Linked DNA regions of Homo sapiens: all the other regions are linked to region 1. Evidence: promoter capture Hi-C in 16 types of primary human blood cells and fetal thymus (Javierre and others, 2016). All regions are on one chromosome and are shown on one strand. The core of a region is centred on a gene start or on the middle of the fragment in contact, and the rest is flanking DNA. Distances in the headings are between cores, read along the strand shown.

What was found. The method cuts DNA at HindIII sites, captures the fragments that hold promoters and counts their contacts. A CHiCAGO score of 5 or more calls a contact.
Region 2: a fragment that was not itself captured here is called in contact with the fragment with the promoter of ELMO3 in region 1 in 1 of 17 cell types (M0 macrophages); the score reaches 5.8 in M0 macrophages.
Region 3: a contact is called between a fragment that was not itself captured here and the fragment with the promoter of ELMO3 in region 1, in 1 of 17 cell types (endothelial precursors). The highest score is 5.2, in endothelial precursors.
Region 4: the fragment with the promoter of CES4A here is called in contact with the fragment with the promoter of ELMO3 in region 1 in 16 of 17 cell types (total CD8 T cells, M0 macrophages, erythroblasts and 13 more); the score reaches 16.0 in total CD8 T cells.
Region 5: a contact is called between a fragment that was not itself captured here and the fragment with the promoter of ELMO3 in region 1, in 2 of 17 cell types (endothelial precursors and M0 macrophages). The highest score is 6.0, in endothelial precursors.
Region 6: a fragment that was not itself captured here is called in contact with the fragment with the promoter of ELMO3 in region 1 in 1 of 17 cell types (endothelial precursors); the score reaches 5.0 in endothelial precursors.

The regions. Positions count from the first base shown.
Region 1 is chr16:67,197,224-67,200,825 of GRCh38, reverse strand. It overlaps ELMO3 (engulfment and cell motility 3), which reads right to left and starts at 1,695. Exons shown (of 20, transcript NM_024712.5): 1 at 1,422-1,695; 2 at 1,233-1,273; 3 at 1,070-1,142; 4 at 825-875; 5 at 465-634; 6 at 276-375; 7 at 18-169. The coding sequence starts at 1,499. It overlaps E2F4 (E2F transcription factor 4), which reads right to left. Exons shown (of 10, transcript NM_001950.4): 8 at 3,180-3,227; 9 at 2,915-2,959; 10 at 1,908-2,818. The coding sequence ends at 2,703. RefSeq lists a silencer at 2,300-2,359. The HindIII fragment of the contact is 7,654 bases long and covers 1-3,602 here.
Region 2 is chr16:66,966,961-66,970,562 of GRCh38, reverse strand. CES3 (carboxylesterase 3) reads right to left here. Exons shown (of 13, transcript NM_024922.6): 9 at 804-884. Among named protein-coding and RNA genes, the nearest start is that of CES3, 7.5 kb to the right of the region's middle. The HindIII fragment of the contact is 299 bases long and covers 1,639-1,937 here.
Region 3 is chr16:67,422,420-67,426,021 of GRCh38, reverse strand. It overlaps LOC124903702 (a long non-coding RNA gene), which reads right to left. Exons shown (of 2, transcript XR_007065093.1): 2 at 1-643. Among named protein-coding and RNA genes, the nearest start is that of HSD11B2, 6.9 kb to the left of the region's middle. RefSeq lists an enhancer at 1,203-1,797. The HindIII fragment of the contact is 471 bases long and covers 1,587-2,057 here.
Region 4 is chr16:66,986,743-66,990,344 of GRCh38, reverse strand. It overlaps CES4A (carboxylesterase 4A), which reads right to left and starts at 1,756. Exons shown (of 14, transcript NM_001364782.1): 1 at 1,515-1,756. The coding sequence starts at 1,572. The HindIII fragment of the contact is 37,432 bases long and covers 1-3,602 here.
Region 5 is chr16:67,406,550-67,410,151 of GRCh38, reverse strand. It overlaps ZDHHC1 (zDHHC palmitoyltransferase 1), which reads left to right. Exons shown (of 12, transcript NM_001323627.2): 2 at 2,339-2,385. The coding sequence starts at 2,377. Among named protein-coding and RNA genes, the nearest start is that of ZDHHC1, 8.1 kb to the left of the region's middle. RefSeq lists enhancers at 1,676-2,561, 2,562-3,448, 3,449-3,602. The HindIII fragment of the contact is 997 bases long and covers 1,587-2,583 here.
Region 6 is chr16:67,385,934-67,389,535 of GRCh38, reverse strand. No RefSeq gene overlaps it. Among named protein-coding and RNA genes, the nearest start is that of TPPP3, 5.8 kb to the left of the region's middle. The HindIII fragment of the contact is 405 bases long and covers 1,412-1,816 here.

The DNA of each region.
Region 1 (3,602 bases), core at 446-2,945:
CAGCCCCAGAGGCTTACACCTGTAGGTGCACCAGCAGCCTATCCAGGGGCACCTCGCTCTTGACCAGCTGGCCCAGGGCTGGGCTGCTCAAGGTCACACTCTCCAGCAGCCCAAGGGCCAGGGGAGGCACGGAGGCATCCATGAGGTTCATGTTCACGTAGCACACCACCTGTAAGGGGCGGGGGTGTCACCACCTCACCCCCATGGAAGACCGGGTCTACCACTGCCCCACTGCTCCACTGCCCCCACCCGCTGCCCTAGGAAAGCCCACCCACCTTCCTCACAAAGGGGATGCTCAGAGTCTCCCAGGACACCACGCCGTGCTCCATGAGCTCTGAGAAGGCCCTCAGGCTGAGGGCCAGCACCTCTCCTAGGCTGGAGGGGGGACATCTGGGGCTGAGCAGGACCACCCCAGGACCAGAAAGACCCACCATCTCCCCCAGCCCACACATCCCTGTGCTCACTCGTCCCCATCTTCAATGATGGTGCCTAGTATCTGGAGCCCATTACGGCTGATGACCTCCCTGGCAAAGATCATGTCCGAGGCCAGCGGAACAAGGCGCCTCAGGGCTTCCCGGCGCCCTTCAGGACTGTTACTCTGCAGCCCACCCAAGAGCTGCTCAGCCTCAAGGTCCTGGCAGGAACGGAGCAGGAGCAGAGGTGAAGAGGCTGGGCATGGTAAGGGTGGGACCTGGAAGTGTGCGGCCCCGGGCGTCAACTAGGTGGCGCAAGGCAGGGCTGGGGCGGGGGCCTCCGGGGCGGGGGGCCTCTGGACCTGGAGCAAAGGGGCAGGGATGGGGAAGGCGGGACGGGAGGGGCATTACTGGGGCCGTGCTGAGGCACAGGATGCTGCCATTCTTGATCTCCGCGCGGTTCTGGAGAAGACAGCAGAAAAGGCAGCGAGGTCAGGGAGGGCTCCGAGGACTGATCAACTGGGGTGTCGGTGAGGGCGGCTGGGGGTGAATAACAGATCGCGCTCCGGTAGTGGGATGAAGAGCCAGAGTTATCGGGGCCAGGTGGGTTAGAGGGGTCGGAAGGCCGAGCTTGGGGCTGGGGAGAGGGGACTCACATTCTCGGTGATGTATCTCCGGTGCCCATCCGCAAACTGCAGGGCGTAACGCTCAGAGTGCGTCAGGCTCCACCTGAGGGGCACGAGGCTCAGCGAGGCCGGCAGGGGGCGCCGCCCCTCCTGCCCTCCCGCCCTCCGCAGGCCCTGGCCCGGCAGCACTCACGCGTCGCACACCTCCTTCAGCACAGCGGCCAGGGGCTTCGCCTGCAAGTGGAGTGGTCATTCTCGCGGCCTGGGCAGGGAGGGATGGGGAGGAGCCTGGGGGGAGGGGTGGGGCGGGCTGCCCCGAGGGCCAGGGGGCTACCGGGAGGTGGGGCAGTGGGGCAGATGGAGGCGGGACCAGCCGGGTGACCTGGTCCAGCTGGATGAGCTGCGGGATGGCGTCACGCATCTTGATGGCAATCTTCACCACGTTCCGCGGAGGCGCCATGGTCCAGCTGGGACGTGGGCGCCTGCACTTTCCGGAGACCGTGCACCTGCGGCCAAGGGTGCACCTGGCCTGGGGCCCCTGGGGACGAGGAGGTCCTCCCTTTCCGAGACCTGACCTCGGTGTCCCGCACTCGCGGCCCAGACTGCTGCTCCTGGCCATGCAACGCGGCCTTCCCAAGGGAGCCGAGGTTAGTTCCGGGTTGGAGTCTGGGGGTAGGAAGGTAGGACGGCTCCGCCTGCCCCGCCCCGCCGAGGCGGCCCCGCCCCACACCAAGGTGCGGCAGGTGGGGGCGGGGAGGGCAGGCTGCCGGAGGCCGCCCCACCCCTAGTTCCAGCAAGGTGACCCACCCAATCACACTGCCAGTCCAGCACAGTCCCAAGGAGGGTCCCCAAAGAACCACATCAGAGCTAGCCTTAGGCATGGTTTTTATTCACTTGAACACTGTACAAATATTACAATTTCCTTTTGCTGCAAAAAGTATAAAAATAATCTTTATATAGGAATCCATTCGTTACTGTAAATCTTTCTAAATCTCTGCAAATGGCTCTAAATGAGGGTAAATGAAAAAGCCGAAATGAAGAGAGGGTTATGGGGCAGCAGGAGGTGGGGCCAATCATCAGGGCTGGACCACCCAGACTCCTCCCCAGAGACCTCTGTTCCTTCTTGGTAGCCGCCCCCACCACCTGCAGGTTCTAGGGCTAAAGGCCCAGCAGAAGTGGGCACGTGAGAGGGCCAGGAGGAGCTGGAGGGTCAGGGGGTGGGGGATAGCGAAGGAAGCTAGAAGTGGTGCTGGCATGTGCCCAGTTCCACCCCACCCTTCCCTCCTAGGGGAAGGAGCTGGCAGAAGCAAGACACTGAGGCTGGCAGGAACAAGACACTGCCCCCTATGGGGGGTAATGGCAGCTCCTCGGTTCTGTGCCACTGGGTGGCAGCCGAGCCTGGGCTGGCGAAGGCCGCAGAAAGGGAGAAGCAAACACTTTGGCTCCACGGTGATGGGGGCTGAGTCCTGTTCCCCTGCTCTGCGAGCACAGAAGTGCCAGCACAGGAGCGGGAGCTGTGGCCAGAACTGTGCGGTGAGGGGAGGCCGGAGAAGCCAGGCGTCTGTGGCTCTCAAGCTCTGTAGGGGTCGGGTGGGAGAGGTCCCCAGGCAACCCCCAGGTCAGACAGTCTGGGTCCCAGCCACACAGGGCATGTCCCTGTCAGTCAGAGGTTGAGAACAGGCACATCAAAGAGGTCACAGACACCTTCACTCTCGTCCAGGTTGTAGATATAATCGTGGTCTCCCGGGGGTGGAGAAAGACGAAGCAGAGGGGCAAACACTGCAGAGAGCACTAGTCTCAGGCCCTGGGCCAGGGCTCCCCTAGCAGCAGCCCAACCCCTGCCCACACCCACTCCCACCTTCCAGGGCCACCCACCTTCTGAGGACATCAACTCCTCCAGCAGCTCCGAGCTCATGCACTCTGGGAATGGAGGGAGCTCAGTTACTAACATTCCAGCTCCCACCTCTCCACCCACCAAAGCCCAGGAAAGGGAACCCCACCTGCCCATCAGGAACTTCACCCTTTGCCCCAGTTACCATAAGCGCCACAACAAGGTCCTCAAAAGGGCAAGAAAACAGCCATAGGACCCAATGAGCTGTGTCCCTTACCCCTAGCCTCAGGGAGGAATGCAGCAGCCTACCTCGTGTGGGATCAAAGATTTCTGACAGCTCTTTGGGGAGTTCCAAAACTGAAAAACAAGAAAGCCATGCTCAGGGCACAGAGGTCCAGCCTGGCCCCACTACAGCCCCCTGGCTTCCTCGGATCCTATACCACCCACCCTGAGGCTCCACACAGCTAAGGAGATGTAGGTCCTGCCTAGGCCAAGCTGGCACTGTCTGTTGGCCTCACTTGCTAAACCTGAATTCCTCAGTGCTGAGCCCAGGGTACCAAAGGCCCCCTGCAAGCGATTGGTACAGCTTTTCTAACTCGGAAAGGCCACAGAAGCCTCTTTCTGGGCTCAGCATGCACCCCCTGTCTGACAGAAGGTACCCCATCTGTCCCACCCTTGCTGAGCACCTGCTCTGTGCAAGACTGAGACCAGACCCTGGGTCAGGTCACCAGG
Region 2 (3,602 bases), core at 539-3,038, 230 kb after region 1:
TCTATCTAGCTCCACATCTGACAGCTGAGGCTCTAGGGTCAGACAAAACTGGCTTAAACTCTGCCTCTGCCCCTTCCCCAGCATGACACCTCAAGCCTCAGTTTCCTCATGTGTAAAATGGGGCTAGCGAGAATTCCTCTGTAAAGAGTTGCAGCGCCGGGCGCGGTGGCTCCACGCTCGCAATCCCAGCACTTTGGGAGGCCGAGGCGGGTGAATCACCTGAGGTCAGGAGTTTGAGACCAGCCTGGCCAACATGGTGAAACCCTGTCTCTACTAAAACACAAAAATTAGCCGGGCATGGTGGCAGGGGCCTGTAATCCCAGCTACTCGGGAGGCTGAGGCAGGAGAATCGCTTGAATGAGGGAGGTGGATGTTGCGGTGAGCCGAGATCGGGCCACTGCACTCCAGCCTTGGCGACAGAGCAAGACTCTGTCTCAAAAAAAAAAAAAAAAACAAAGAAAAGAAAAGAAAAGAAAACAGAGTTGCAGTGAGGATTGAAGGAGATGAAACCCTCTCCCGGCGCTCAGTGCACCATAGTCCCTGGCACGTAATATGTGCTCATTAACGGGCAGTTTCATGTTGACGATGATGGTGATGATGGTTTTCCTTTGAGAACCACACTGGCTCATATCTAAGGAGATTCCGGAGTGGAAGTAAAATTGATCAGTTAGACAAAGGGGCTTGGTGGTAGGTGGGTAGCTGTGGGTGTCGGAAGGTAGGGGCAGAGACTGTGCTGTTGGATGGGATACCCACTAGCTTCCTCCCTCCTGCCCTAGCTTCCTCCCTCCTGCCTCTTGTCTCACCAGACTGGTCAAGACGGGTGTTGAGATGGCCAGCATGTCCTCCCGGCTCATCTGCTCCATTGTATCCAGGAGACCCCAGCCCTGTGTGGACACCAAGGCCCTCTCAGTGGAGCCTGACCACCGGCTCACCCCGACTCCCAGCCCTGGGCAAGAGAGTGTTCACGGTCCTGAGGCCAGAAACTCATCATGGAGCACTTGGCCAAAATGGGGCCGAAAAGTCCACAGATCCAAAAAGATAAACCGCAAATTGGTGGGAGGTGGTTGGTGTGGATGGGGAGAGCAGCCCCAAATACAACAGGCAAGTGGTTAAAGGCAACTGTAGAGAATGAAAAATTTCTTCAACATTTTTTTTTTGAGACAGAGACTCACTCCGTTGCCCAGGCTGGAGTGCAGTGGCGCAATCTCGGCTCACCGCAACCTCCGCCTCCTGGGTTCAAGCTATTCTCCTGCCTCAGCCTCCCGAGTAGCTGGGACCGCAGACGTGCACCACCGTGCCTGGCTAATTTTTGTATTTTTAGTAGAGGTGGGGTTATGCCATGTTGGCCAGGCTGGTCTCACACTCCTGGCCTTGAGTGATCCGCCTGCCTTGGCCTCCCAAAGTGCTGGGATTAAAGGCATGAGCCGCCGGGCCCAGCCTGAGTCACCCAACTTCTAAGAAACATTCTCAGCAACAAGTCCTGGGCACAGCCTTCCACGCCAGGCAGATCTACCCAGGTCCTGGGGCACAGCCAGGTTGGGGTTCCCTTGGTTTCACTCATACAACTGTAAGTTGATGGTGTGGGGTAAAGGCTGCCTGCCAGAGTTGAGGGCATTGACCTGAAAACTTTTACAAGCTTTGTATTTTGTGAGACAGTGTCTCACTCTGTCACCCAGGCTGGAGTATAGTGGGACAGTCTCGGCTCACTGCAGCCTCTGCCTCCTGGGTTCAAGTGATTCTCGTGCCTCAGCCTCCTGAGTAGCTGGAATTACAGGCATGCACCACCACGCCCAGCTAATTTTTGTATTTTTAGTACAGATGGGGTTTCACCATGTTGGCTAGGCTGGTCTCGAACTCCTGACTTCAAGTGACCCACTCACCTCAGCCTCCCAAAGTGCTGGGATTATAGGCATGAGCCACCGCACCCGGCTTAAGCTTTGTCTTTGAATGTCAAGATTGCATGAGCCTCTCTCTCACATACCAAGGGACCAATATGAGGGGATTGATTCCAAAGGGCTAAGTCAGAGGACAAAAGCCATGGACATGAAGACATTCACTGCGCTATTAGCCTCAGTGGTAAAAACTAGAAGTTGCCAGGACCGGGTGCAGCCTCATGCCTGTAATCCCAGCATTTTGGGAGGCCAAGGCTGGTGGATCACCTGAGTTCAGGAGTTCCAGATCAGCCTGTCCAACATGGAGAAACCCCATCTCTACTAAAAAAAATACAAAAATTAGCCAGGCATGGTGGCAGATGCCTGTAATCCCAGCTACTCAGGAGGCTGAGGCAGGAGAATCGCTTGAACCTGGGAGGCAGAGGTTGCAGTGCGGTGAGCTAAGATCGCGCCATTGCACTCCACCCTGGGCAACAAGAGCAAAACTCCATCTCAAAAACAAAACAAACAAACAAACAAAAAAACTAGAAGATGCCCAAATGCCAAGATGAAAGAACAATGTAACGAGACGCTCCATTTGTGGAAGATTTGCAGCCATTAAAAGTGGTTGTTGGCTGGGTGCTGTGGCTCATGTCTGTAATCCCAGCACTGTGGGAGGTCGAGGCAAGAGGATTGCTTGAGGCCAGGTGCTCTAGACCAGCTTGGGCAACAGAGGGAGACCTGACTATACACGGAAGAAAAAAAAAGTTAGCAGAGTATGGTGGCACAGACCTGAGGCCCGAGCTACTCAGGAAGCTGGGAGGATTGCTCGGGCCTGAGAGGTTGAGGCAGTAGAGAGTCATGATGGCGCTGCTGCACTGCAGCCTGGATGATGGATCGAGGCTCTGTCTCAAAAAACAAACAAACACACAAACAACAACAACAACAAAAATGGATTGCTTTGTCTTAGGGTGTGCAATGGGCCAAGACGAAAAAAAAAAAAAAAGAAAAGTGAAGAAAATGATTGCTGTGAAGATGGGTAGAAGAATAAGAATGACAGAAACAAGATGCTCGGGATGAAAGCACAGTGCTGACACTCTTGTGGGAAGTTCTATGCACCTGGAAAGGAATGGAAGGGACTTGGCTCATGAAGTCCCCGGTGGCTTGATATCTAAAACCTGAGAGTTTTAGTCAATTGCTCTGGCACAGAGTCACACTAACCAGTCTCATAGAGCCTGATGTATAAACCAGACGCCAAGGCAGGAATATGCTGCCCAGATCAGCAGTGCCCAGAAGGCCAGTTTGTGCAAAAACCTTGTTCCCCAAAAGAAAACATTTGCTTTATTGAAGTGGCCCACGCCTGTAATCCCAACACTTCGGAAGGCCAAAGCAGATGGATTACTTGAGGTCAGGAGCTTGAGACCAGCCTGGCCAACGTGGTGAAAGCTGGGTGTGGTGGCATGTGCCTGTAATCCCAGCTGCTTGGGAGGCTGAGGCAGGAGAAACTCTTGAACCCAGGAGGTGGAGGTTGAAGTGAGCTGAGATCGCACCACTGCACTCCAGCCTGGGTGACAGAGCGAGACTCTGTCTCAAAAACAAACAAACAAACAAACAAAAACAGAAAAAAAAAAGCAAAACAACAACACAACAAAACAAAGCTGGGTGACCTTGGGCAAGTCCCTCAAACCTTTCTGGGCCTCTGCTTTCTCACTTATCAAATGGGAGTAACGG
Region 3 (3,602 bases), core at 573-3,072, 230 kb before region 1:
CTCCACCATTTTTCAGAGCTATCCCATCTGGGCTGGGCACCTGGAAACCAGGCCCTTCAGTTACGGAACTGAAGGAAACCTCCCCTCCAGTTACCAGAGAGGGAGGCAGTAAGACACAGAAAGCCAGGAGCATCACTTGTGTTTTCAGCCTGTGTCTGGCACCCTCCTCCGAACTTTTACTGTCTCCAGGATTAAAGGCAGATGTTTGGGGATTAGGGTCCTTGAGTTTGGGAAACAGAGAGAGTATGTTCTGCAGGGCTTTCTGGACCAGTCCCAGGCGGAAAGCAAGCCTCAGCTGAGAGCATTTGGAGGGAGAGCTTGACTGACTCTGGATGAAATCCTTCTAGGATCCGTCTTGTATCCTCCAGTGTGGTTGTGTGTTTGTGGCATGCCAGTCCTTGTGCTTAGCTTGCTTGGTCTTTATTTTATTTACTATCCTCACGTCATCACTATGAAGTAGGTACTATCATTATCCTTATCCTATACATAAGGATAAGGCTACCGACCTTTTGCTATTTGCTGCTCGATTAAAAACAAGTCTCCCAACGACGGAATTGAGGCAACTTGATTGTTAAAACTCATTCCAAACTTGTCTCCTTACAGCTTCCATCACCCTGATTCAGGCCTTTTCTTGGCACAACAACTGCAAAAGATACAAAAATTAGTTGCTGTTGGCTGGCTGTTTTAATTTATTTGCATATACATAATTCAGCCCCACCCCTGGTGGCTAATACGCCCCCTGGGGAAGCTGTGGCTGTCTTCTGATTGCTGGTGGGGAGGACTGTGTGTGTTGTTTTTTTAAATAAACTGAAACCAGATGGAGGGGGGTTTTGTTCACAGCCTTGCGTACAATTTTCTCCAGCGAATTCCTTGAAAAGTCAACCACCTATGAGTGGTGCCTCTGCTCCGTGGAGGTCCCTCACCGCTGGTATGCAAATATCGAGCAGGGTTGATATTTCTCAAGAAGAAAAAGAGCTTCTTGGCCTGAGGGCTTTCCAGAATGCGGGGTCATCTCCTGGTTGCCCCCAGTTTTAGGTCTGTACTTACAGTTAATGTCCTCGCTCTCCTTCCGCCTTGTGTTGGGAGTGGGCTGGGGCGGGGGAGTCTTGGGCCAGGCTTGAGTCAAATCACCTAGACCAACCACTTGGTATAAAAATGTGAATTCCAGACCCCCACCTATACCCCATTTGCAGCACTGACCTCCGGCACGAGACCCCAACTGTCCAGCTGGGTTGATTTTTGCAGTCAGCGGAGGGGTTATTCTCCTAAAGGGGCCCAAGCCACTCCTGCTTCCATCCTGGGAAGGCCAGAAGCTGGAGGTGGTTATCGAAATATTTTTAACCGCCAGCCAGGTCCAAGGCTTTGTAATGCCCCGGGAGCCCTCATTAAGCGATTCCTTGTTCAGAGAAATGAGGCGAGTGTACCCACTGGTCACCCTGCCAGAGGTTTAGTATTTTTTCTTTGGAACGTGAATTGGGCATTGTCGTAGTGAAGTGTGACCCAGTCCCCAGGCAAGGGAGAGCACTTCTTTCCCAGCTCTGACCTTCATTCCTAGCTCAGAACACCTTTCTTTTGGATTCCAAGCTTTTTCAGATAATTGTGTCAGGTTACATAAGGCTCTGAGATATGAACACTCAAAGGAAATTCCGGTGAGAGCAGGTCTGAGAGGTTCCTGCACATAATTTGCTTTAAAGTATTCGAGGAAAACTTCAGGTGTCTGAGGCCAGCACATTTTTGAAATAAAATAAGAGCAGCCAACAACTTTGCATGGATGTGCCATTCCCCATAGAAATGAGCGAGCAAAAAGACAGATTTCACACTGAAAGGAAATACCCCTCCCCAGGGAGCCTGTGCAGGGGCGGGAGGGGGCTGGTGGGGGAGAGGCGGGAGTCAGTTGCAAGAGAACAGCTTGGACCAGGCTGCCATTGAAATGGAAATCTTCACCAACCAGGATCACTTTTTTCCCCCTTTCTGCATCTTAGGTGACACGTGGTAAACACAAGACTTCAGTTTTCCAAGAAACATAAAATAAAAACTGAATTACTGGCAGAGAAGCTTTAAAATCTTTGGTTCCTGGGACTCTGCGGGCACATTTTCCACACACCATGATTTTTATTTCATTTGCCTCTGAGGGGCGGCCCTCCAGCAGTTCTGTTGCATAAGGTACTGTTTCCAAACACCTTGTCCCCAACTGGTGACACAGAGTAAGTTTTATCTAGGTCTGAGAAGAGTTCTGGAAGAGTGACATCGTGTTCCAAGTCGCACCAGTTACAATCAACAGTAGGAAGGTTGCCAAAGATCTCACCAAGAAAGCTGAGAGAATATTTTAAATACTAAATGGCACTTCTTGCTTAAAGCATGAAGTGGTCGTAAAAACCACTTAACAGGGAAGAAAATTAATGGGAGGAAAGTGCCTTGAATGCAGCAAATTTTACAAAAAGCTTAACAAGGAACATGGAAAAAATAGATTTACTATGTTGAAGAGGTGGGATAATATAGGAAAGTCCATTTTTACACAAAAATAATTTGGTTATTTACACAAGGCTTCACAGAAGAATTCCTATAAGTAGCGCTATCCTTTTTTATTCTTCACGTGTTTGACACACATTTCTTTCTTTATGATTATTATTTTTAGAGACAGAGTCTTGCTTTGTTGCCCAGGCTACAGTGGTGCAGTCACTCATAGGTCACTGCAGCCTCGAACTCCTGGGCTCCAGGGATCCTCCCCTTCTCAGCCTCCTGAGTAGCTTGGACTACAGGCATGCGTCATCATGCACCGCTAATTTTTAAATTTTTTGTAAACACAGGGTCTTGCTATGTTGCCCAGGCTGGTCTTGAACTCCTGGGCTCAAACAATCCTCCCACCTTGGCCTCCGAAAGTGCTGGGATTACAGCGGCCTCAACACACATTTCTTGAGTGCTTAGTATGTTCTGGGCTTAGTAAGTGCTGGGATTACAGCAGCCTCAACACACATTTCTTGAGTGCTTAGTATGTTCTGGGCTCTGTGCTAGGGAAGCAATAGTAAACAATACAAACATTATTCCTCCCCTGTGGGAGGAATAATAATTCCCTCCTCTTCTGTCTGACTGGAGGGACAGGCCCTTATCAGATCATTACACAATCAAGGAGACCCAGAGAGAAGGAACGAGAAAGCAGAGTCCCACGGTGCTATGGGAATGATGGTCTCTATTCTGGGGACCACAGAGGGCTTTCCCAGAGGAAGTAAGTTTCCAGGTAGTGTGAGCTTCAAATGCAAAGGCCGTGGGATAGACAGAGCTGTGGTCAGCCTGAGCCAGGGGGCACGCAAGGTCTTGGAGACTGCGGTGGCCACAGTGAGGAGGAGGTTTCTATTCCAATTTCATGGTATATGGAAATACCTCTCCCTAAGGAGTGGGGAGTGTTGTTGAGGGTTGTAAGCAGGAAGTAAAAGAATCAGCTTGGCGTGGATTTTTTAAATTTTGTTTTTGTTCTAAGACAGCCACAGGCTGTAAGGAGAATGGACTGATAGGGGTGGGGACGGGGACAGGGAGGGCCCCCGTGGAAATCAAGAGCCAGTCAGAAAGCCAGGGCAAGAGATGCTGGTGGCCATGAAGACACGCCA
Region 4 (3,602 bases), core at 507-3,006, 210 kb after region 1:
ATGGTGGCTCATGCCTGCGGTCCCAGCACTTTGGGAGGCCGAGGCAGGTGGATCATCTCAGGTCAGAATTTCGAGACCTGCCTGGCCAGCATGGCGAAACCCCATCTCCACTAAAAAAATACAAAAATTAGCTGGGCTTGTGGTGTACGCCTGTAGTCCCAGCTACTTGGGAGGCTGAGGTGGGGAGAATTGCTTGAACCCGGGAGGTGGAGGTTGCGGTGAGCGGAGATGGCACCATTGCACACCAGTCTGGGTGACAGGGCGAGACTCCGTCTCAAAAAAAAAAAAAAAAAAAAAGAAAAGATGAAAAGAAAATGCGCCAAAATGTTAAAAGCGGAGTAAGCAAAGTTTCCTTCAAATTTAAAATAATGGATATATGTATATATGGGCAAAATTTATTTATGATAGAGGTCAGACTAGTGGTAACTTTGAGTATTGACTGAGAAGGAGTACATGGGACGCTGGAGATGGTTTTTTGTTTTTTTTTTTGAGATAGAGTTTCGCTCTTGTTGCCCAGGCTGGAGTGCAATGGCACGATCTCGGCTCACTACAACCTCTGCCTCCTGGCTTCAAGCGATTCTCCTGCCTCAGCCTCCTGAGTAGCTGGGATTACAGGCATGTGCCACCATGCCTGGCTAGTTTTGTATTTTTAGTAGAGACGGGGTAATAATATTGGTTAGGCTGGTCTCAAACTCCTGACCTCAGGTGATCTGCCCGCTTCGGCCTCCCAAAGTGCTGGGATTACAGGTGTATCCTTGTAAGTTAAAAAAACTTTTTAAAAAATGTTTTTTAAAAATAGAGACAGAGTCTATTTACCCAGGCTAGGTCTCACTATTTGCCCAGGCTGGTCTCAAACTCCTGGGCTCAAGTAATCCTCCCACCTCAGCCTCTCAAAGTGCTGGAATTACAGGCATGAGCTACCATGCCTAACCCACTGGAAATGTTCTAGATGTTGATCTGGATAATGGTTACCATATATATATATATAATAATTAGTATAATAGATATAATTATACAGTGAAGATGTGTGCACCTTGCTGTATACATCTTATACCTCAGTAAACTTTTGTTAATGTATTAGATTGTTTTCACAGTAAAAAGTGTAGTACTCATTTTAAAAAGAAAGATATTGGGGAGAAATTTGAAGGTGGTAAAGAGGTTCATGTAGCAGAGAGGGGGCAGAGACAGGCCTCCTGCTTAGGAGAAGGAAAGAAGGATGGAAGGAAGGAAAAAGGTGGGAAGGAAGAAAAGATGTGGCCATGTTCTCAGACCCCTTCACCTGTGCCGGGAGGCAGGAAATACAGAGAAGCCCTGAGGTTCAGGGAGGCTAAAGGACTTGTCCAGACTCCCAGCTGGTAGATGGTTTAGTGTCCTGAAACCCTACCCTCCATTTGCCCAGGCCTTGTCTAAGTGCTCCTGCCCTGCTGTCCCCAGGAGAGGTTGAACTGGGGCCTGTCCCTCCATCCCTTGTGCCCGTCTTGCCTGACACTCTCGGGAAGGGGTGGGGGTCTTACCCAAGGCCGTCTGCGCCATCAGGCAGAGGGTGAGGCTCCAGCACAGAATCCACCTCATGCTCCAGCCAGCTCCTGCTGTGGGCAGGAGTGATGGCAACACTGTGGATGGCAACACTGTGGATGGCATGGTAGCCGTGTCTACAGTGTGTGAGCACACTTTTATCTGCTCTTAATCCCTGCCAGCAAGTACTGGGGCGGGAGGAATTGTAACCAGCTTCTGACCAGCCCACAGCCTTGTCTCTGCCTTGGGCAACAGGTCACGCTAGATGATCTTGGCTCTTCAAACTGATCAGCCTGCAATCTCCGCCCCGTTTGCTCATCTGTGCAGTGGCTTAAAGCTGAACATGTGTGAGTCAAGGTCTAAGCATACAGTGGGTGCCAAGATTGAAGTAGAACACCTGGTTACTTGGCCCTTCAGCCAGGGCTTCCTGTCTGTGGATTTAAGGGTCTTGGGCCTCCCTGCTCCCCAGTGCCTCGTCTAGCCTCTTCCCTGCCTTTCCTCGCACATGCTGACCCTTGGCTGTCCTCACAGTTTCATAGTCCACATGCGGAAGCTGGACCTGAAAGCAACCGTAATGTGGGAGCCCAGAGGGGCACCCGAGGAGTGAGCCCAGAGCCGGGTGGTGGGAATGAAGATTCCCTGGAAAAGATCTAATCTTCTAAGTAAAGGATGAGGAGGAGTGGGCCAGGCAAAGAAAGATCCTGTTTGAAGTTTGGAGCCACAGGAGCAAGTGTGGGAGGTGGAAGCAAGGAGACAGCAGTCCCATCTTCAGTCAAAGGTAAGATGGGGCTGGGTGTGGTGGCTCATGCCTGTAATACCAGCACTTTGGAAGGCTGAGGCAGGTGGATCACCTGAGGTCAGGAGTTCGAGACCAGCCTGGCCAACATGGTGAAACCCCGTCTCTACTAAAACAAAGAATACAAAAATTAGCTGGGCGTGGTAGTGTGTGCCTGTAGTCCCAGCTACTCAGGAGGCTGAGGCAGGAGGATGGCTTGAACCTGGGAGGCGGAGGTTGTAGTGAGCCGAGATCGGGCCACTGCACTCCAGCCTGGGTGACAGAGTGAGACCCTGTCTCAAAAATAAATAGGCCAGGCACGGTGGCTCATGCCTGTAATCCCAACACTTTGGGAGGCTGAGGCAGGCGGGTCACGAGGTCAGAAGATCGAGACCATCCTGGCTAACACCCCGTCCCTACTAAAAATACAAAAAATTATCCGGGCGTGGTGGCACGCGCCCGTAGTTCCAGCTACTCAGGAGGCTGAGGCAAGAGAATTGCTTGAAACCAGGAGGCGGAGCTTGCAGTGAGCCAAGATGGCGTCACTGTACTCCAGCCTGGGCGACAGAGTGAGACTCCATCTCAAAGAACAAAAAAAAGGTAAGATGTTTCCTCTCTCGTGTACCCCCAAAGTCTGGGGTCCTGGCCCATCTTTGTGAAAAGAGGGTCTGTTGGGCTTCTGTGCTGGGGAGGGGAAAAGGCAGGGGAACAGAGAACTTCTCCCTTGGCCCACAGCCTCTTGCTCTATAGGCCTGACAGATGGTTAAACCTCCTTCTTTCACAGTCAATTTTCTGAGTTCTTCGGAGATGCTCTTTATTTGGGACTCCTCTCCCACAGTTCCCATCCTTGTGACCCTTCCTCAGTCCCAAGGAATGTGGCATTCACTGCCCAATCATTGCTGCCTGGGCTCTGTGCTCCTCTAATGAAGGCCCAAGATGACCCCCCACCCCTGCCTCTGCCACTTATCCTGTGGGGTCTACATGGGCAAACCTCCAATATCCCTTGCCCCACCTCAGCAGAGGTGTGGCCCATCCCATTGCAGCCCCTTCTGCCCCACTCACGATGGCGGGGTGGAGTCAGGCTCTGGCTGGCTGAGCCTCCTATGGTGGAAAGCACCACTCATCTTCCCCATGGTCTCATGCCCACAGGCTTGAGGGGAAAGAAGTGGGGTGAGAACTCACAGCGAGGTAACAGGTCTCTACAAAGAAAATCTCTCCCCTAACTCCTCCCCAGCATAACGTGTTAACTTGTGGTGGCTCACGCCTGTAATCTCAGCACTTTAGGAGGCCAAGGCAGGAGGACCGCTTAAGG
Region 5 (3,602 bases), core at 836-3,335, 210 kb before region 1:
ACTCTCATGCCTTCAGCCTGCTTTGCCTCCATGTGGCTCTTCCAGCAGTGCCCATGTGTCCTCACCTGGCCTCCTAGACCCCTGTGATCTGAGCCCCGCAACTCCTTCAGTCCCATCTCTCACTGGGTCCTGCTCTCCATTCCCTCCTTCCCCCACCCCCCACCCCCGCCACCTGTCCACCCTGTGTTCTGCCACATTGGATGGCTGGCCCTTGCATGGGCTGCCAAAATGCCCATTCACCCACTGCCCTGGTATCTGTTCGTGTCCGTCCAGGTCCCAGAAGAGAAGCCCCTGAGGGCAGGCACCCGGTCTCATCTGTGTTTACATCCTAAGTGCGCAGGCTGGGCTCCGATAAGTGCTGACTGGCCAAGGTCAGAGGGTGCCAGCTGGCTACGTCGTTGGAGAACAGAGCCACATGTCTTTCAATCTGGTCTCCTAGAGAAGTGCTGAGAGGGGAGCAACAGCCAGAGAAGTCCCGGGGTCTGGTGACAGTGCTTGGTCCCATCCATGGGCCTGGGAGCCCCATCTTGGATTCTCTCCGACCTCCCAGCCCTTTTAATCAAAATCTTTTGGGCCGAAGGAATTTGTAGCCACCAACTCTGCAGGAGAAAATGTCGTCAGTGAAGAGTGGGCTGGCCTGGGCATGCCTCTGGGCCAGCCTGGGCGTCTATACCAGAATGCTGCCTCTGCTGAGGGAGGTCTGCCTGGCAGCACCATCCCCACATCCACAGCCTCAGACAAGTGCTCCCTTCCTGGGCCTGATTTGGAGTATCGGGGGTATCCTGATTTGGAGTATCAGGGGGTATCCGATTTGGAGTATCAGGGAGTATCCTGATTTGGAGTATCAGGGGGTATCCTGATTTGGAGTATCAGGGGGTATCCTGATTTGGAGTATCAGCGGGTATCCTGATTTGGAGTATCAGGGGGTATCCTGATTTGGAGTCAGAGCCATCCCCAAGGCTGTAAGTGGCGGGCGCCTGGCTGCAGATGGTGACTCCTCCTGCCTCAGGAGTCAGGGATACAGCAGCTCTGGGGGTGCCTGTGGCCACTGCCAGGCAGTGGGGCCAGATCAGCTGCATGCGTCTGTTTTGCTCTTTGGAAACTCCTGCAAGGTGTAGGGTTGTTCAGGTTTGGGGATGGCAAAAGGAGAGCCAGAATTTAGGAATCCAAATTAATGGATTCCTTTCAAAGTAATTGCCCTGGTGATGGTGTCACTGGGGAGCTGATGTGCAAGCCACAGAGATTGGCCCCAGAGCAGAACCATCCAACCCAATCATATTCACAGGGCTTGACCTGATGACCTTTGACAATTCCACAATACAAGGACAAAGATTTGCTATCTTTGGGGACATGCAAAAGAAAGTGAGGGCTGGGATAGTGGGTCATGCATGTAATCTCAGTGCTTTGGGAGGATAAAGTGGGAAGATCGCTTGAGCCCAGGAGTTGGAGACCAGCCTGGGCAACATAGTGGGACTGTCTCTGCAAAAATAAAAAATAAATAGCTAGGCATGGCAACACGCCGCTGTATTTCTAGCTACTCAGGAGGCTGAGGCAGGAGGATCACTTGAGCCCAGGAGATTGAAGCTTCAGTGAGCTATCATTGCGCCACGGCACTCCAGCCTGGGTGACAGCGCAAGACCCTGTTTCAAAAACAAAAAACAAAACAAAACAAAGCAAGGCCGGGCACGGTGGCTCACGCCTCTAATCCCAGCACTTTGGGAGGCCAAGGCTGGCGGATCTCTTGAGTCTGGAGTCCAGGAGTTGGAGACCACCCTGGGCAACATAGTGGGACCCTGTCTTTACAAAAAAATAAAATAAAGTAGCCAGGTGTGGTGGTGCGTGCCTGTACTTCCAGCTACTCTGGAGGCTGAGGTGGGAGGATCACTTGAGCCCAGGAGGTCAAGGTTACAGTGAGCTGTGATGGTGCCACTGCACTCCAGCCTGGGCAACAGAGCAAGATCCTGTCTCAGAAGAAAAAAAAAAACCCTAAACCCAAAACCCAAATACCACCAGTTGAATCCCTGGGGGAAAACTAAGTCCTCCATTTAGCTTTGAGATGGGACAACTCAGAGGTCACTTCAAATAATGCTTGGCTTGGCCTGCAGGAGGCTCTGAGCCTCAGGTGGGCTGAAGGGCAGGGTGGCTAGGAGTGAGTGTCTGGCAGTCAGGGTGGTAGCCAGCCGGCAGAGGGAGATGGGCTGCGGGAGGCATGGGTTCACGACCCTGCAGAAAGAGGGCAGGGCTGGATGGATGGAAGGCAGGAGAAAGCAGGCCAGATGGCTTAGGGTGGACCAGGATTCCACACCATTTACTGTGCCCACGTTTCCTTTTATTTCAGCTGTTTTCAAGTCAGCAAACATTTACTGAGGATCTACTATGTACAAGGTACAATTTTGGGTGCCTGGGGGAAGGGACATAGGGGACAGAGATGAATAAACCCCACCCAGCACATTTGCTGCCTTTGGGGAAAGTTGTCCTAATGAGGGCAGACATGAGGATTGCAAAGCGTCCCAAATGGCAAAGTAATTTGCCCAACAATGACTTAGCATAAGGGCCCCCTGACTCAGGGCATCAGGGAAAGCTTCCTGGATGAGGCAACCCTTGCAGTTGGCTCTGAAGATCAAGCCTCATTCTGTGGATTGAGAAGTGAGAAAGGTGATCCAGGAAGATGCACTGAGTCGGGGTCTGCGGCACCCTTTCTGCTTAGGTTCCCTGTCTCATGGGCAGGGGCTCCTGAAAGGAGAGTTCAGCTACCAGGGTTTTAGTCCCAGCTCCTGGCCTTCCCACCATGAGCGCAGAGCTGGCCTGTCTCCCAGGTGTGGCGCTGCCTGCCTGAGCTGTTGTCCCATCTTGGGCCCATATCCTGGGGATGGGGGTCTTCCTCCTGTAGCCTACCCCTTCTTGCCTGGCATTCATCCCTGGACCCTGGGCCAGCTGTCCGGCTAGAGGGTGGCGGGTGGAGGGGGTGGTTGATGCCATCTGGTGGTCTGGCTCTGAGTCCAAGGGCGTTAGCCCACCTTTCTGTACAAAACTGTACACCAGGCCCAGATTTACTTAGAGAAACGTGGTCATTTCTGCTGCTGAAGGGAACTAAAGAGGAATCCTTCCCTTCCTCACATGTGCTGGCCCCTCCCCAGCTGAGAACCCTCAGGCAGCATGGGGCAGAGCTTCAGACTCCCCCAGTCCTAAAGGGATTTTCTGTCCACCGTGGGGGAGAGGGCAGATCCTCCTTCTGGGCACCCCATTCCCCGTTTCCCTGAGCAAAGGATAGCGGGGGTGTCTGACACTTGCATTTGGACCTCAGGAAGGAGGTGACTAATCCTAACAGAATCAGCATGTGTTCTCATCACTCTGGCCCCAGCCTGATATTGTTACCAGATGAGAACATGTCTTATTGGGTTTAACTGTGATGGCTGTGAAGACAGCACTTTGAGTTACAGGCAGCAGCACTGTGTCCTGAATAAATCCTGGGCCCTCCTACCTTGTCCTGGCCAGTCTAGGGCCAGGGTTTGCTTTGGGCTTTGAGACAGCAGCCCACTCCCACCCTCTCCCCACTGCCCATCTCTATTGTGCTAGGACCCCAGTTTCCCCAGCAGAGTAGC
Region 6 (3,602 bases), core at 365-2,864, 190 kb before region 1:
TGGCCCCCTCTCCACTTTCACAGCAGTAGGAGGGATGAAACAGCCGACTCAGCCTGGGCCAAGCATTGGCAGAGGCCCCAGAGCCAGGCATCAGCTTTCAGTCTGCGAACAGGGGCTACCGAGGCAAGTCATTTTGGGTTCTGGCTCAGAATACAGAAAACGCAGGGCCAGGCAGAACCTTAGAGAGTAGCTCATCCAGGCCGGGCGCGGTGGCTCACGCCTGTAATCCCAGCACTTTGGGAGGCTGAGGCGGGTGGATCATGAGGTCAGGAGTTCAAGACCAGCCTGACCAACATAGTGATACCCCGTCTCGATTAAAAATACAAAAATTGGCTGGGCATGGTGTTGCGTGCCTGTAGTCCCTCCCAGCTACTCAGGAGACTGAGGCAGGAGAATCGCTTGAATCCAGGAGTTGGAGGTTGCTGTGAGCCGAGATCACGCCACTGCACTCCAGTGTGGGCAACAGACACTTTGTCTCAAAAAAAAAAAAAAAAAAAAAAAAAAAAAAAGAGAGTAGCTCATCTGACTCCGTAATTTTATAGCTGAGGAAACATCCAGAGAGGTGGAGGGGCTTCTGCAGACTAGAGGCCAGACCATGCCTCTTGCCTCCCAGGCCAGGCTCTTTCTAGCAAGCCCCAGCATTGACTTCCAAAACTGGGACTGGCTGACTGGTGATAGGGCTTGGCACCCAACACTAGCCTGTGGTGGGAGCAGGGCATCCCTCAGTAAAGGGGCCTCCTCTTTGATGTCCTCCCATCTGTTCCACATCCCTAGTGGGGGAAGGGAGCCTCTCTGGTCCTGAGGATGCCTGGGCGTTTCCAGATCATCTCACTGAGGCTCTGGGTGTTTTGACAGAGCTATTCCCAAGCCAAGGCTTTCGGGCTACCTCTCCTTCCTTCCTTGCTGTGAAAATGGGGCTGGATGGGACTTTAGGGCCTACCCAGGAGAGGGTGGCTCCCAAAGGGGCTAGAAAAGGTATAAAAGGGCCAGTTCCCAAATGCCTGCTTTCCTGACCCAGATCACAAGACAAAGCAGCACCATTGTTTATCCTCTCATCCCACAGTCTATTGGGGGATGCTCCTGCCCAGGTGGCCCCACATCCCTTAAGCCCAGCTTTCCTTGGGGACAGGGGTGTAGCGGAATAGTATGGCTTGAGACAGGGATGTCAGGCGGGAATCGGCAGGCAGCAGGTGGGCACCTGGCCACAGCAGAGCCTTGCCTCACAGCGCGGCTCCTCCTGACCCAGCTGACCGCGTCTCCTTGAGTGGCCCAGGGAAGAGCTTCAGGGACCTTCAGGCAGATCCTCCCACCAGCAAATGTTAAGAGGTAGAATGCAAGGCGTTTAATGAAAAAAAAAAAATGCAGAGGAACAATTCCTCTAGCCCTGGAAAATTCGTTTGAATTGCAAGCTTAAAATGAACATAATAGGAGTGAAACCCAAATCCTCTGGCTTTCACCAGAACAGCCTCACAGGGAAACAAATTTAACTGTGTTCCAAATTGGGCCAGGCTCCCACTATTCCACTGCAGGTGACAGTACCATCCAATGGTAGAGGGCCCAGCGGCTTCTCCATTCCTGTGACTGGCAGTATGGCTTGGAAGAACACAGAGAGAATGGCTGAGCCCCAAAACCCCACGTCATAGGAGTAAAGCCGCCTCTTCTCGAAATGCCGTTATGAAGCCCGAGGGAATTTAAGGCCCACTCAGGGCTGGGAGGACCCTAAGACCAGACGGGTCTAGCAGAATCTGGCACATGACAGCCATTGCCCAGCAATGCCACTGCCCCTCCCCTAACAGCCTCCTTGTGGTTGAAAGCTTTGGATACCCTTGCTAGCAAAATCAGGTTAGACAAAGGAGAGGTTAGGATCAGAGGGACAGAGCCTTTAAAACCTGCTCTGTATGGCTGGGAGAACTCCCAACCTAAGAGTGGCTCTGCCCCTCCCTCTGGACATAGAACCTCCCTGAGGACCAGTCTCCATCCCAGACCTGTCCTGCTTTCTGGTGGTAGTGCCAGGCCTAGGGTGTGGGATTCTGCTCCACGTGTTTTCTGCTTGTTTAAAGGGTCCTCCGCTTTCCATGTTGAGTCCAGTTTGCCCTGAGCTCTTTGGCTCTCTCCTTAACATCGCAACCCCTACCCGTGCCCTGTAGAACAAGTGCCATACAGGGAAAAATCAGAAACAGATGACTTCCCCAGGAGTGGCCAGCAAACCTAGCAGGTGCCTGGCCTGGGGCAGGGTCGGTCACTTTCAATGACAATGGCAAATGGGGTGGAGGGTGGCACACACTGGGCCAGGCTCTTTGTTCCCCTTAGGAGGTGTCCTGAGTGGATTCTGGGGCTAGCACCATCAGGTGTTCATGGAGGAGGCAGGAAGGGCTGGGTTGGAGGAAAGCAGTGCATTATTCCTCCCTGCCCCCTGGTGTGTCCATTAGGTTGGCCTGTGCACTGGGCTGAGACCCTGAAATATAACAACTCAGGGATGCAAGGCCACTGGCTGATGCTCCCCTACCTGGGAGACAAAGACAGGCCCAGGAAAGAGGCAGCGGGGGTGCAGGGAGGCTGCTCTTACTGACATTTCCACAGAGCACAAGCTCGCTCTAGCTCCCTCAGAGCCTTGCAGCTCAAAGAAACTTCTGGCTCCTCTGTACAAGCTGCTTTTGGGAAGCCACTTAAAATCCAGAAGTCTGTGGATTTATAACTTAGAAACTTGTGACTGTCATGTCTTATTAGTATGGTGGTGGCTCTCCTTCCCTGCACAGCATGGAATCAGGGGTACAAGTAAATTATCTAATCCTTCCACCTGTCTCTCTCTCTGATGTGGCCCTGAAGGTGAAGAGAAGAACCATGTGGCATTAGGTTGAAAATCCTTCACTTTCTACACACTCTCTGGCAACATTAGCACGCTGGGAGGCCACTGAAGCAGAAACATACCTAGAACCACTTACATCATCTTTCCCCATTGATTTTTCAAATGCCCAATCAGGATTAAAAGTACAGGGCACCTGCATGTAAACTGGATGCTGAGCCCAAAGCTAACATATTCAGAAGCAGCATATCTAGTCCGGCCTGCCTCTGCCTCTTCTTTGGGCTGCCTAGCTCCGCTTTGGTCCCCCGCTACTTCACACATGATCAACCCATTCTCTTCTTCTCTCCTCCTGCTTCTTCTTCTTTCTTCTTCTTTTTTTTTTTTTTGGAGACAGGGTTTTGCTCTGTTGCCCAGGCTGGAGTGCAGTGGTGCAATCATAGCTCACTGCAGCCTTGAACTCTTGGGCTCAAGTGATCCTCATGCCTCAACCTCCCTAGTAATTGGGCCCACAGGCATGCACCACTGCGCCTTAACTTTTAAAATTTTTTTGTAGAGACGGAGTCTCACTATGTTGCCCAGGCTGGTCTCAAGCAATCCTCCCGCCTCGATCTCCCTAAGTACTGGGATTACAGGTGTGAGCCCCTATGCCTGGTCCTGAGAAAGCTTTTCAAACACAGTCTGTCACTCCTCTGCCTTCCCAATCTAAAATCTTCAAAGAGTGGTGCAACCTTGCTCCTGCTTACCTCCTCTCAGCCCCTCAGCTCCCTGAAGAAACCACGTCCCTTTCCATTTCCCGGCC